2 separate regions of the Homo sapiens genome follow, and region 2 is linked to region 1. The links are contacts of gene promoters, found by promoter capture Hi-C in blood cells and fetal thymus (Javierre and others, 2016). All regions are on one chromosome and are shown on one strand. Each heading gives the region's core, a stretch centred on a gene start or on the middle of the fragment in contact. The rest is flanking DNA. Distances are from core to core; before and after follow the strand shown.

Region 1 (7,391 bases), core at 1,697-4,196:
AGTCTCATTTTCTTCAGCCACAACTAATGAACAAAGTCTCCTTCAGCTCCCAAATCCGAATAGCTTTAAGGATATCCCCTGCTTGCTGCTTGTTATTATGTCAGGCCCTGTGCTAAGCGCTTTGCATATATTACCTCATTTAATCCCCATTTTGGAAGTCAGGAAACAGCCTCTGAGACATTTTGTAACTTAGCTAAGGTCACTCAGTTGACAAATAGTGAAGTGATGGGATTCAGTAGCCTCTGCTGCTAGCCACTGCCTCAGGGCAGGTAATTATTTCTATGAATTCAGCAGGGCCAAGCCAACTAGACTAAGCAAAAGAAATGAGGATCCAAAAAAATTCATGCGCTTTTTCATGCGCGGTGAATGCAGGAAAAGTCATATATATATATGGCTATGTAAATCAGCAACTGCAATATTTGAATCAGCATGAATAAAAAACCATTCCTCTGTCTCTTAAAAAAATAGGCAGATCTGTTTTCTTCTTCCTCATTTCTATCTGAGCCTCTGTACCAAGGAGAAACGGGAATAAGACAGGACTAGATTCTTCCCAAACACCAGGTGATGCGGTCAGTGAGGAGAGCTCCAGAATCAAAAGATGAAGAAGGACCTGCCTCTAGCCCCCAAGAGGTATGCTGTTCTTCCCACACATCTCAGCTCTCTCCCAGCACTGAGTCCAGCCCTCCACAGAAAGGGGAGGAAAATGCCCACCCCTAGCCCTGCCCTTCCCCAACCCTCCACACATCACTCCTTCTTCTTCCTGCCCTCCTGCACAGTCTGATAATGGTGCTCTCTCTTGCTCAGCCCTTTAGCCCTGCAGACCTAGGACAGGGCATGACTTGGGAAGGCTCCTGTGCACAGGGTGCACTGGAGGAGGTGCCCCAGGCCCTGGGCCATGGAGATAATTGTGTATCTGCTTCTCTTTTACCTTTTGGGTGGGTAGCCTCTCCTTTTTTAAGGGACACTGACTTCAACCATGTCTACTAATCCCTCAGTATGGCTCCCTGGGCACTCAAGAGCAACAGTTCCAGGCAGGGACCCCCACATCCTACTCTAATTACTACTGCAGACACAGAGGAGACCAATTCCATTCCTTCCCTGGCCTCTTGGATTCTTTGTTTACTCACCTCTTTCCAGTGACCACGTCTCCCACTTCCCCTTCCCCAGCAATACTCCCCTGTCATCCTCACCTCTCCCCTCCCCCCAGCTCATTTCCCAGAACCCACCATCCATTTATCTTCTCTACTTTATACAACACTGCTGGGAGGAAGGGCTCTTCCTCAGTGGAGCCCAGGAACCTCCATGAGGAGCCCATTTCTCCCTTCACAACCAAAAAATTGCTTCCTGTAGAATAACAAGCAGAGGGAAAAGGCTGGAAGGAGATATGTTATCGGGGTGTTCTCCAGGGGGTGGGACTGTAGGTGACTGACATGTTTGTTTTTCATACTTTTCTCTAGGTTTTACGTTTTCTATTATGAGCAGATTACTTTTATAATCAGTAAATATTTAGAGGAGAGGTTAAACCACAGCTCTTCGAAGAAGACAGGGCTATGTTTGAATCCTGCCTCCACAGTTAGGAGTCATGCTTCCTTGGAAAAATCTAACTTTCTAAACCTCAGTTGGCACATCTGTGAAATAATACCTACTTCACAGGGTTGTTGCTATGATTAAATATAAAGTGCTGGCTACAGGGCAGGCATTCACAAACTGGCAACTATTACTTAAACTAATAAGAGTTAAAATCGCAACCACCACCACTTGCCCCTAAGTGTTCTCTGCCTCTTGGTACCCAGACATGGGAAAGTCTCACCTATTATAGAACTGGGCTATCCTTCCCTTCCAAAGCCCACTTTTTTTTTCTTTACTATGCCATAAGGTGGCAAAGTCAGTAACCTCGTGTATCATTAGCTGGTTGACTGAATGACTGAAAATACAAGGACTTTGGAATAGTCTTTCTCCAAGTGCAGAGGCAAAAAATAAATAAGCAAACAAATAAATTTCATATACGTATGATCACTGTACTCTTCCAGTGAGGCAGGAGCCAGGGCCTATGCCAGGCGCTTTCATACCGAGTCACCTTTACAGCAAACCCCTCGGGCGCTGGGCACTTGCAGTACCCAGGTTTCCGCGTGGGCGCTGACAAATTGCAGACACTTCCTTTCCTCGCCAGCAGGGCTCTCTCGCGGTCACTTCACCCAGCCCCTTCCGAGCGAGAAGGCCTTGGGGGCCGGGACAACCCCTCCCCAGAACCACCCTGACTAGGCTCTTTGCAGCCAGCATCACTACCGAGCTAACCAATATGGACCAGCCTGCGCTGCACAGGGCGCTTAGGCGATCGTTGGAGGGTCATGAGGATCAGCCTGTCCGCCCACCGACGGCGGCGCAGTGGGATGGGGAACGGGGTGGGGGCCGAAAGACGGGAGGAAGGAGTCGCTGCAGTGTCTCCAGGCGATGGTTGCCAGCGTCTCACTGGGGAGGAAGTTCCTCCTGTCATCCAACCCGCAGTTCCCCTCTTGCAGAGCCCTGCCGAGCTCCCAGTCCAGCCTAGGCTGTCTAACGGATGGGCGCTCAGACGCCCCCGCGAGTTGAGGAGCATTTTTCCTAGGGCTTCCAAGTCGGGCGGGCGCCTTCCACCATCCACCACCCACGTCTCGGCAAGGACCCCTTTTCTTTCTGCTCCTAGGTCTTCCGCATCCACTTCCATCCCTCTCTCGCCCTCCAGGGCTTTCTCAGGCGCCTCTCGCAGCGGACCCCGCCAAGTGCCCCTCCCCCGGGCCCTCTAACTTACGGTGCAGCAGTCCATGCTGGTGTCGGGGGGTCCTCTGCGGGGACGAAGGCTGGCGCAGGGCGGGGGTGGGGTCTGTGTGGTGCCGGGTGGGGGCTCTGGGGCAGTCGGCCGCCAGCCGACCCGCGCCGAAACAGCAGCTCTGCTCTCGGGTCCGGTCTCCCGCGCTCGGCTCCGCTCGCGAATGTAACCTGAGCCCCGCGGCCGGGAAGCCAATCAGGAGCAGCCTCCGGCAGGGTGGGCGGGGAGAAGTGGAGGGAGGGCCACGCCCTCTCGCGGCTCTCTGCGCCGCGCTCCCGCTCCTGCCCCAGCCCCTCCGCCTACACGCTTGTATCCAAGCCTCCTACACACTCCATCCTCCCGGGCGCAATCCCCTGGCTTGCTAGGCGGCAGACTGCCAGGCAGATGTACGCCGGAGTAGGCAGAAGGAGGCCCCCGACACCCCGAGCACAAACACCCACATCTGGGCACAGCACCTACTCCCGCTCAGAGAAAACCACGCACCCCTCACCCATCCCTCCATACTTCCACAACCTAGCAGGAGTCCCAAATATGGCTCCCTTTCACTTCACTCCCCCTCAGTCCGCAAAGAAAGGCTCCCTAACGGGCGGTAAAAAGGTCTCATCATCACTCCTGCTACAGACGGAGAAACCTGTTGGTACAACCTGGCGATGGGCATGCGTCCACACAAAAGCTCACAAGCCCCACATGTCCACATATGATTTTCCCAGGCCTTCTTCCAGCATACAGACACTGCAGATACAACCTGCAAAAATAACTACGCAGCCCTTCAGTTGCAGGTAAATGCGGACACCCTGTTGCGGGCGCCCGCGCGCTCACGCACGCACACGGACAGTCACCCAACTCAAGCTGTCGGCATGACGTATCTATTATCGATCTGTCTACATGAGCTGCAACAAACAACATCATATATGCACAACACCTATTTTGTATGTATTTATATATGGGCACAGACTTGGAAGAAGTATCCTCCTCCCTTTCATACCAGACTCTGCCTAACCTTTTGATCTGCTGCCTCAGAATAAGACAAAAGCTGGCCATCCTCGCCCTTGCTCCTGAGAAGAAGAAAAATACCCTAAACCCAAGTGTAGAGAATTCGAAGTAATTGGCTCTTGGGTCCATGATGAGGCAGGATGTGGGCTTCGTGAGAGGCTGGGAAGGGGAGCTATGGAAAGAGCATCTGGGAGGGACAGACTGCCACTGTTGTGGTCGTCAGCCTCCCCCAACTCGGCAGGGTACAAAAGCTGGCAGTGTGGCTTGTTATGTGGGTAGGGTAGGCCTTCTCTGAGAAAACTAGAAAGTCTTCTCAGCTAAGGTCCCAGAGAAGGGAAGGAGGAAAGGATGGCTCCTGCTGGGAGCAAAGGTGGGAAATGCCCTGTGGCTCTGGTTGGGACAGCAGATCCTGAGACAGCTCTGCTGTGCATCCCCAGTCCCTGGCCATGACCAGGGACCACGTGGCGGTGACATGCTTCCTTTCCACCTAGATGTTTGGGCCCGAGGCTCTGCTTGCCAAAGGAAAAATGAGTGGGAGAGAAATGCCTGAGTCCATTCAGGGTGGGGATAAGGTTAGCCAGCTTGGGGTCCCAGGCTGAGCTGGATGCTGGCCGGGATTCCAGGGCTTGGGGTGTAGGGGTGTCTCTCCCAGCATGTTTGGGACCCACCCACTTTTGTAAAAAAAAATCTGTTCCCCAATCTGTCTCTGGCACATCTTTCATCTCCCCACCTCCTCCAAGTGGCCAGATGTCCTGGGAACTCAGGCCCTTGCCTAAATGACACGCACATCTGTGGCCTTCTGTTGTGCCAATTCCTGCTGGACTTCAACTCCAGAATCCAGAGAGGAGAGGAAAGGGGGAAATTGGGGGACAGAGTGGATACCAGGCCTAGACTCTGTGCTTTTCTCTTCCCAAATTAGAGCTGAGGAATTCGGGATTTGGTGAGTTTGCAGTCAAGTCTCCCAAGTTGCTAGGCAACATCCCTCTGCAGACTGCGCTGCCTCTGGGCCCTTCTTCCTGCTGGTCAGAACTGAAGGGGGGGTATCTTTACAACACCCCCCCCACCAACTCCCACACAGGCAGCACAGCCCTTCCCTCTTCCTGAAGGACACCTTTGTGTGGGGTGAGGGTGTCTCTGAACACTGGAGGGCCCATAGGAGAACAGATACGGCAACTGTCAGTTCCATCCGCAAAGCAACCATTTCAGCAACAGCCCACTCAAGGCGCCTACGCAGAACTGGCCACAGTGCTGGCCCTGGGGGATGGGCAGGCTCTGAGGTGAGGAAAAGACAGAGAGGAAGGCAGAGCCTGAGATGAGAAGACAGACACTCACAAACTCAAATACCAGTGGCAGGAGCAGTAACACATATGGCCTCATAGAAATTACACACACAGACCCAAAGATGCAGACACACACACTGCCCACACACCCAGAGACACACACCCTGCACGGGTTGTCACCCACTGACATCCAAAGACATGCTCAGCGTGGGCCCCTTAACCACTGTGGGGCCAAGGCACCCACTAGCGCTGGGGAAAGGTCCCTCTTCTGAGCCTCTAGGTGGCTGGGGTTTGTCAGCAAGGTGGGCTGGTGGGACTCAGCCTGTGATACTCAAATAGGTGAGCTAGGACAAAGGACAGATGCAGTAAGGGATGGCTGGGTCTGCCTCTGCAGGCTCTGGTCTTTGGCAGAATGATGCCAAGTTATACTCCCCATGGTAACCTGCCTGGCCTAGGGCCTGGGTGCCACCGGTCAACATTTGGAGTATGACCTACTGTCCAGATGGGCTTGGACTCGTAGTTGTTCTTGACTTTTCAAATTTTAAAGCTTCTCATCTACAGTCTCCAGCCCCCATAGCTACTGAAGGAAAACTGCTGGCCTGGAAAGGAGATGAGCTCTGGAAGGGAATGGCCAGGTTAGGGAGGCAACTGGGGCATGTTGGTGGGTGCCGTGGGATGGAGCCAGCAGGAAGCATGGAGATGACAGGGGTGAGGAATAGAAGCCAAGGCAGGTGAGGGATAGACAAAAGAGAGGATAAAAGATGGATTAGTGGGAAGCTCCTGTGGTCCAATACAGATTCTTCTTGGGACAGATGGAAGGGGATTTGGAGAGGGTTGGTCCTAGTAAGCAGGCAGAAAAGCCAAGGCACGTGACAATCTATTTCCCAATAACTTGTGGCTTCCCCTTCTCGGAGTGGGCACCTTCTGAACTTCACATCCTGGCTCAAGCCCGTGGAGGGACCCATAATCAGAAGGGGGCTAGAAAGTATGAGGCCTGTGTCTTTGGTGGAGCTGATCTGGGGGCTTCTTAGGTCAGGATTTTACCCATTTGAGTGGAGGGGGTGGAGGTAGCAGGAAATTCAGTTTTCTCTGCAAATATTTCAGCTTTTGCTGTTGTAGTATTTTTAGCAACCTGGTTGGCAGAGGAGGAGCCCGGGTACATTTTTAAAGGGGCCTCTGCCAGGCTGGAGGCCTCTTCCCACCCTCACCCCACATGTCAGGAAGGAGAGGGGGAGAAAGCACATGGCTTAAGGGGTCCATTCAAAGGTAGAAATCAGGTTTGCTGGACATTAGGTGACCGTTGAGTCATTTTCACCAGTAGTCATTTTGTTCTGTCATTGTCAGCATCATGATTGTTACCAGCATTATCAAGAGGAGTAAATATTTCTTGAACTTCTGCTATGTTCAGGGTGCTGCTAGAGAGGCAATACGGAAGGCTCGGTATAATATATTTGCTAAGATGGGGAAATAACCAATATTCTAGAGTGAGTTCTAGGCTAAATCTGAATAGCACTTTACAAAGTGCTACCACATCCATTATTTAAAGTGGTGCTCTCGAGAACAGTGTGAGGAGGTATTACTCTTTCTTTCTTTCTTTCTTTCTTTTTCTTTCTTTCTTTTTGAGACAGAGTCACACTCTGTCACCCAGGTTGGAGTGCAGTGGCACAATCTTAAGCAACCTCCACCTCCCAGGTTCAAGCGATTCTCCTGCCTCAGCCTCCTGAGTAGCTGGGATTACAGATGCTCACCACCATGTCAGGCTAATTTTTTTGTATTTTTAGTAGAGACAGGGTTTTGTCATGTTTGCCAGGTTGGTCTCGAACTCCTGGCCTCAAGTGATCTGCCTGCCTCAGCCTCCCAAAGTGCTGAGATTACAGGCATAAGCCACCGTGCCCAGCCTAGGAGGTATTGTTATTTCTAACCTCTTTTTCTGAGGAGGAAACTGAGGCTGGGAGAGGTTAAGTGACTTGCTATTTGTCCAGCATTAGATCTCTGAGGAAATGCAGAACTAGGACTAAAACCCAGGAGTTCTGACTTTGAATTCTGCATTTCTCCTGTACAGTGCTCCTAGCGTAAGCTAAGCAAATCAGACATAATCTCTTTTCTCTTGGATGTTGTAATCCGATGGAAAAAGTACATATATGTGCGTGTATAAAATAATGAATGATAGATACGAAAGGAATTAAGCAGACAGTAAATGTTCTGGGAGTTGAGGTGTGGAAGAAATGACTGAGAATTTGGATGGTCAAGGAAGCCTCCCTGGATGATGGTTTGAAGCAAGCATGAATCCAAAAGTATCTGAGACATGTATC
Region 2 (6,501 bases), core at 255-2,754, 120 kb before region 1:
ATGTGGCTGGGAATTTTCAGTGGCCAAGCTGGGGCCATATGGGGAGGCTTCTTGGTGGTCTAAAGCCTGCATGCCGGCTGGTAGTGGATGAAGCTGCTGGCATGTAATTGCCCAGGAGTGCAGTCTGAAGACAACCCCCCATTACTACCACTGCCTCCCCCCAATGTACACACACACTGTCCGGTCCATTTGCATCCCCCCAGAGCCTGTAGCCTGCCATCACTCTCTGCCTGGACCCCTTCCCAGGACATTAATACATATTGAGTGTGAGATTGTGTGTGTGTGTGTGTGTGTGTGTGTGTGTGTGTGTTTGCTGGGAGGGGGACAAAGAAATAACATCTGCCCCTTACCCCCACTAGGGTATGCCTGTGAATGGCCCAGCAGGGCTGCTGGCTTCAGAGTGATGATGCCAGGGGGCAGCGACCCAGCCAGCAGGGGCCAGAGAACCAAACAGGAGGGGGAATCAGAGAGCAAAGAGCAGGCACCCAGCTGGAAAGCAGACAGCAGGAGCCTGCCCCCGGCAGGAGCCAGAGTGTGTTGGCTCAACCCCTATAGCTGCTGAGATAATAAGCCAAGGCCCCCTGCATGAAAGTCCCCCTTTCCCCACAGGGTTCCAGTGGAGGAGACTGTGGGGAGACACTTTGCAACACACTCTACCAAGACTGGAAATCTGGAGACAACTGGGCAGAAATGTTCACATCCCAATACAGATAAAACAAAGTCCAGGGAGAAAAAGAGCTTTCTTGGTTCTTTTTATAAAACTAGATACAGAGCAAGCTTCCATAAATATACACTTGGTGACTATACCTGATTAAATAGTTAGTCCTCACAACTACCCCTGCAGAGCCCACTAGCCTTCTCTCTCTCTCCTTTTGCATTACAGCTGCTGTAAGAAAGTACCAAAAACTAGGTGGCCTAAAACAACAGAAATGTATCCTCTCACAGGTTAGAAGCCTGAAATCAAGGTGTCAGCTGGGCCATGCTCTCCCTGAAGGCTCCAGGGAGGGATCTGTTCTTGCCTCCTCCAGCATCTGCTGATTACCAGCAGTGCTTGGCCTTCCTGGTCTTGAGGATTCATCACTCCATCTCTGCCTCTGTCTTCTTATGGCCTTCCCTGGGTGTGTGTCTCGGTGTCTCTTACCTCTTCTTATAAGGCCACCAGTCATTGGATTAGAGTCCAATTTAATCCAGCATGACTTCACCCTAACTAATTACATCTGCAAAAACCCTCATTTTCAAATGAAGTCACATTCTGAAGTTTTGGGTGAGTAGGACTTTTTTAGGGGGGACAACACATTTAACTTAGTATACCTTATTTTCCTGTATTTCCTTCCTCTTCTGCTCTCTCCATATTCCTGATACTCCCCCAGGGCCCTATTATTTGAGTTTTTAAAATATTCTTGTAATGATAATCATAATGCATGTTCAGGCAAACATATTCAAGCAGTATAAGAAAGTGTAAGATGAAAAGTCTAAGTCCTCACTCCATCAAGTCCTTCTTTATCCTACAGATCCAGTTGCCTGGGTAGCTACCCGTGGTTTCTTGTGTGTCCTTTCTGATTCTTTTTAAAAAGCATATATAAGCATATGTATCTCTATTCCTTTTATTTTATTTATTAATATATTTTTTGAGACAAGGTCTCACTCCGTCACCCAGGCTGGAGTGCAGTGGCACAATCTCCACTAACTGCAACCTCCACTTCCCAGGTGCAAGCGATCCTCCCACCTCAGCCTCCCGAATAGCTGGCACCATAGGCGTGCACCACCACACCCGGCTAATTTTTTTAAAATTTTTTTGGTAGACACGGGGTTTTGCCATGTTGCCCAGGCTGGTCTTGAGCTCCTCAGCTCAGACAATCCACCTGCCTTGGCCTCCCAAAGTGCTGAAATTATAGGCACGAGCCACTGTGCCCATCCTCTCTATTCTTTTAAAGTACAAATTAGCCAGGCATAGTGGCACAGGCTTGTAGTTCCAGCTACTTGAGAGGCTGAGGCAGGAGAATCACTTAAGCCCAGGAGTTCAGGACCAGCCTGGGCAACACAGTGAGACCTTTGTCTCAGATTATTTGTACTGTTCTGCAACTTGCCTTTTTTAACCCATCGATATTTTTAGGGCATCTCTTTCTATCAGTTCATGTATCTCCATCTTTTTTACTTTACTGGCTGGCTAATATTCCATTGCATAGGTTTATTGTACATTTGTAATCAGTCCCCTATTTATGGAAGCTTAGGTTGTTTCTGGCTTTTTGTTTTACAAACAATGCTACTAATAAACATACTACACCTATATCTTTACACACATCTCTAGCTGTAGAATAAATTGTAAAAAGTGAAATTATAGAGGCAAATAATAACTAACAACAGCTAATGTTTATTGAGTGGTTTTATTAATTTCTTCATTCAGCAGATGTTCACCAGGTACCCACTGTGGGCCAGACATAGTTCTGGATGTGCAAGCTACCAGGAATGAGAAAAATCTGAGCACTTTGCAGGCATAATCTCATGTAATGCTCATAGGAACGCTGCGAGGTGGGTACTATTATTTCCAGTTTTCAGATAAGAAAATTATGCCTAAGAAAGCACAGCAAGTAAAGTAACTTTACTTAAGTAACTGCTTAAAGTTACATAGCAAGAAGTATGTGCATTTATATATATATATATACATTTTTTTTTGAGGTGGAGTCTCACTCTGTTGCCCAGGCTGCAGTGGCTCAATCTCGACTGACTGCAACCTCTGCCTCCCAGATTCAGGCGATTCTTCTGCTTCAGCCTTTTGAGCAGCTGGGATTACAGGAGTATGCCCTGATGCCCGGCTAATTTTTGTATTTTTAGTAGAGATGGTATTTCACCATGTTGGCCAGGCTGGTCTCAAACTCCTGACCTCAAGTGATCCGCCTCCCTTGGCCTCCCAAAGTGCTGGGATTACAGGCATGAGCCACCGAGCCCGGCCGCATTTAAATTTTCATATATATCATCAAATTGCCCTTCAAATGGTGCCACAATTGACAGTCCCACAGCAGTGTATGAGAGTCTCTGTCTGCTCACCATGACCAAATATTATGTTTTTATTTTTTACAATTAAATAAATGAAATATGTATTTAATTACTGTAACATATATAGTTAATTCTGAGTGAACTTGAGAACATTTTCATCTGTTTAATGGCCACTTACACATTTTTTCCACGATTTGCTCTCTTGTGTCACTGGGGAAAATTTATTATTTGTCTCATGTGTATATGTTGAAAATTCCCCTCAGTTTGTCATATAATTTTTGACTGAAAAATATTTTACCAGATTTTAGAAAACAAAGTCAAATGTATTAATGTATTTCAATATAGCTTTTCAGTTTGTTTCATGCTTAGACTTTCCTTATGCTAAGATTACAAAAATAGAATCTTTACTTTCTTCTAATAATTTCTAAGCTTTGATATTTTGCATACAGATCTTGGATGCATTTAGAATTTATTCTGGTATGAAGAGTAAGGTAAAAATATAGTTGTTTCTTAGATAAGCAGTTGTCCCTGATTCCTTCACTGATCTGCAGAACCACTTCTCCTATATGCTGAATTCCTATTCATATTCCTAAATGTGAATAGGAATCTGTTCTGTTAGTTCATCTGCATGTTATTCCCCGTGACTGTACTTAACTGTTCAATTATTATAGCTCTGTAACATAGTTTACTATCTGATAGTTTCCCTTCATTACTCTTAATGTTTAGATGTTCTTTGGCTAGTCTTATTTTTTTTTCAGATGTCCTTAATTATTTTTCTATTAAGCTTTAGGTCCTTTGAGCTGGAGCTGCAAGGTAAAATTTTAATAATAATAATAATAAGCAAAGCTATAGGAAATATATATATATATAAAAAATATGTATATATATATATATATATATATATATATATTTTTTTTTTTTTTTTTTTTTTTTTTGAGACAGAGTCTTGCTCTGTCACCAGGCTGGAGTGCAGTGGCCCAATCTTGGCTCACTGCAAATTCCACCTCCCGGGCTCAAGCAATTCTCCTGCCTCAGCCTCCCGAGTAGCTGGGATTATAGGTGCCTGCCATGACAGCCGGCTAATTTTTGTATTTTTAGTAGACACAGAGTTTCACCATGTTGGCTGGGCTGGTCTCAAACTTCCAACCTCAGGTGATTCTCCCACCTTGGTCTCCCAAAATGCTGGAATTACAGGCATGAGCCACCATGCTGGCCTATTTTTGATATTTTTATTGAGTTACATTGAATTCACAGATTAAGAAATTTGACATGTTTACAATATTGATTCTTTCTTTCAAGAACAAATTATAGGCTGGGCATTGTGGCTCACACCTGTAATCCTAACACTTTGGGAGGTCGAGGCGGGCAGATCACGAGGTCAGGAGTTCGAGACCAGCCAGGCCAGCATGGTGAAATCCCGTCTCTACTAAAAATACAAAAAATTAGCTGGGCATGGTGGCGCATGCTTGTAATCCCAGCTACTCGGGAGGCTGAGGCAGGAGAATCGCTTGAACCCAGGAGGCAAAGGTTGCAGTGAGCCAAGATCGCCCCCACTGAACTGAAGCCTGGGCAACAGAGAGAGACTCAGTCTCAAAAATAAATAAATAAATAAAAGAACAAGTTGCTGGGCGCAGTGGCTCACGCCTGTAACCCCAGCACTTTGGGAGGCTGAGGCGGGTGGATCACGAGGTTAGGAGATCGACACCATCCTGGGCCATCACGGTGAAACCCCATCTCTACTAAAAATACAAAAAATAAGCCAGGCATGGTGGCGGGCACCTGTAGTCCCCGCTACTCCGGAGGCTGAGGCTGGAGAATGGCGTGAACCCGGGAGGCGGAGTTTGCAGTGAGCCGACATCGCGCCACTGCACTCTAGACTGGGCAACAGAGAGACACTCCGTCTCAATAAAAAAAAAAAAAAAAAAAAAAAAAAAAAAAAAAGTTATTTGTTGAACATCTACTCTGTACCAAGCACTCTTTTAAGGCGCTGGGAATACATCAGTTATCAAAATAAACAAAAATTCCCTCATAGAGCTTACATTCTAATGGTGCTATAATTTAGCAGGCAATAATAAAGATAAACAACTTAAATATATAATAAGTTAAATTGTGATGAGAAGTATATGGTAGTGGCACGAGAAACTAACATTGAAATGGGGTTCCCAGAAGAGGCCTCATTGAAAAAATGACATTTGAATAAAGCCTTTAAGGAAGTGAGAGAATTAGCCACGTGGCTACCTTAAGAAAGAGTTGTCCCAGATAGATGAAATAGCCAACGCAAAGGCCCTGAGACAGGAGCATAACAAGTGAGTTGAAGGAAAAAAAAAACAGGTGGAGTAGGGTGAATAAGAGAGACATCAAGACTGGGGTAATTACGTAGGACCTTGTATGACATAATAATAACTCTAGCTTATTTTGGGTGAGATGGGATTCCGTGGAGGGAGATTTGAGTGGAACAGTGACATAACTTCACTTATTTTAATAGAGTTTCTCTGGCTGCTGTGCTAAGAACAGACTGAAGAGAAACCTGAAGGGAGGAAGCAGGGGAAGCAGCTGGGAAGCTTTGGCAAGCTTTTGCAATACACACGTAAGTGATGGTGGTGTTTCAGATCAGGGTGGCACCTGTAGAAATGAGAAGTACCTGGATTCTGGATATATTTTGAAAATAGAATTGACAAAATTTTAGTGAGATGGAGAAAGCTAAAGGCGTTGTAGATTCAATGGGTAATATTAGGAACTCGGTTGGGGACATGTTAAGTTAGAGATGTCTGAAGTTCCAGGGAGTAGTCTTGGCTACAGGTATATAAATTGGAGCATCCTCATCATATAAATGACATATGAAACCACAGAACTAGATAAGATCATCAAAGGAAATTTTAAAAATCGACAGGTCCAAGGACTGGGCCTTTGGGTACCAAAACATTTTGAATTTAGGGAGTTGAGGAGGAAGAATAAAGACGACTAAGAAGGGACCAGAGAAATAAAATAAAATCTGGGAGAGTGTGGTATCCTGGAAACTCAGTGAAGAAGGAGAAAGCAAGTGAAGGAGGAGGGAGTGACCAATGGTAAAGTGGAGTAAGACCAACTAGTGTTACAGACTGGATGTCAGTGTCTCCTAAAAATTCAGATGTTGAACTCCTAACCCCCAAAGTGATGGTATTTGGAGATGTGGCCTTTGGGGGTTGATTAGGTCATGGGGGTGGAGCCCTCATATATGGGATTAGTGCCCTTATAAAAGAGGCCCCAGAGAGCTCTCTCACCTCTTCTACCACATGAGGGCACATGGAGAATACAGCGTCTATGGACCAGGAAGCACGTCTTCACCACTGAATCTGCTGGCACCTTGAATCTGACTTCCCAGGCTCCATAACCATGTAAAATATATATTTGTTGTTTTGGCCAACCAGTCTTTGGCATTTTTGTGATAGCAGCCCACGCAGACTGAGACAGCTAAGATGAAGACTGATTGACTATTGAATTTAGTAACATGGATGTCCCTGTTGACCT

What was found. The method cuts DNA at HindIII sites, captures the fragments that hold promoters and counts their contacts. A CHiCAGO score of 5 or more calls a contact.
Region 2: a fragment that was not itself captured here is called in contact with the fragment with the promoter of NRGN in region 1 in 2 of 17 cell types (naive CD8 T cells and naive CD4 T cells); the score reaches 6.0 in naive CD8 T cells.

What each region holds. Positions count from the first base shown.
Region 1 is chr11:124,735,497-124,742,887 of GRCh38, reverse strand. It overlaps NRGN (neurogranin), which reads right to left and starts at 2,946. Exons shown (of 4, transcript NM_006176.3): 1 at 2,789-2,946. The coding sequence starts at 2,803. RefSeq lists silencers at 2,808-3,127, 3,188-3,247. The HindIII fragment of the contact is 6,441 bases long and covers 1-5,628 here.
Region 2 is chr11:124,855,373-124,861,873 of GRCh38, reverse strand. No RefSeq gene overlaps it. Among named protein-coding and RNA genes, the nearest start is that of ROBO3, 6.8 kb to the left of the region's middle. The HindIII fragment of the contact is 1,449 bases long and covers 780-2,228 here.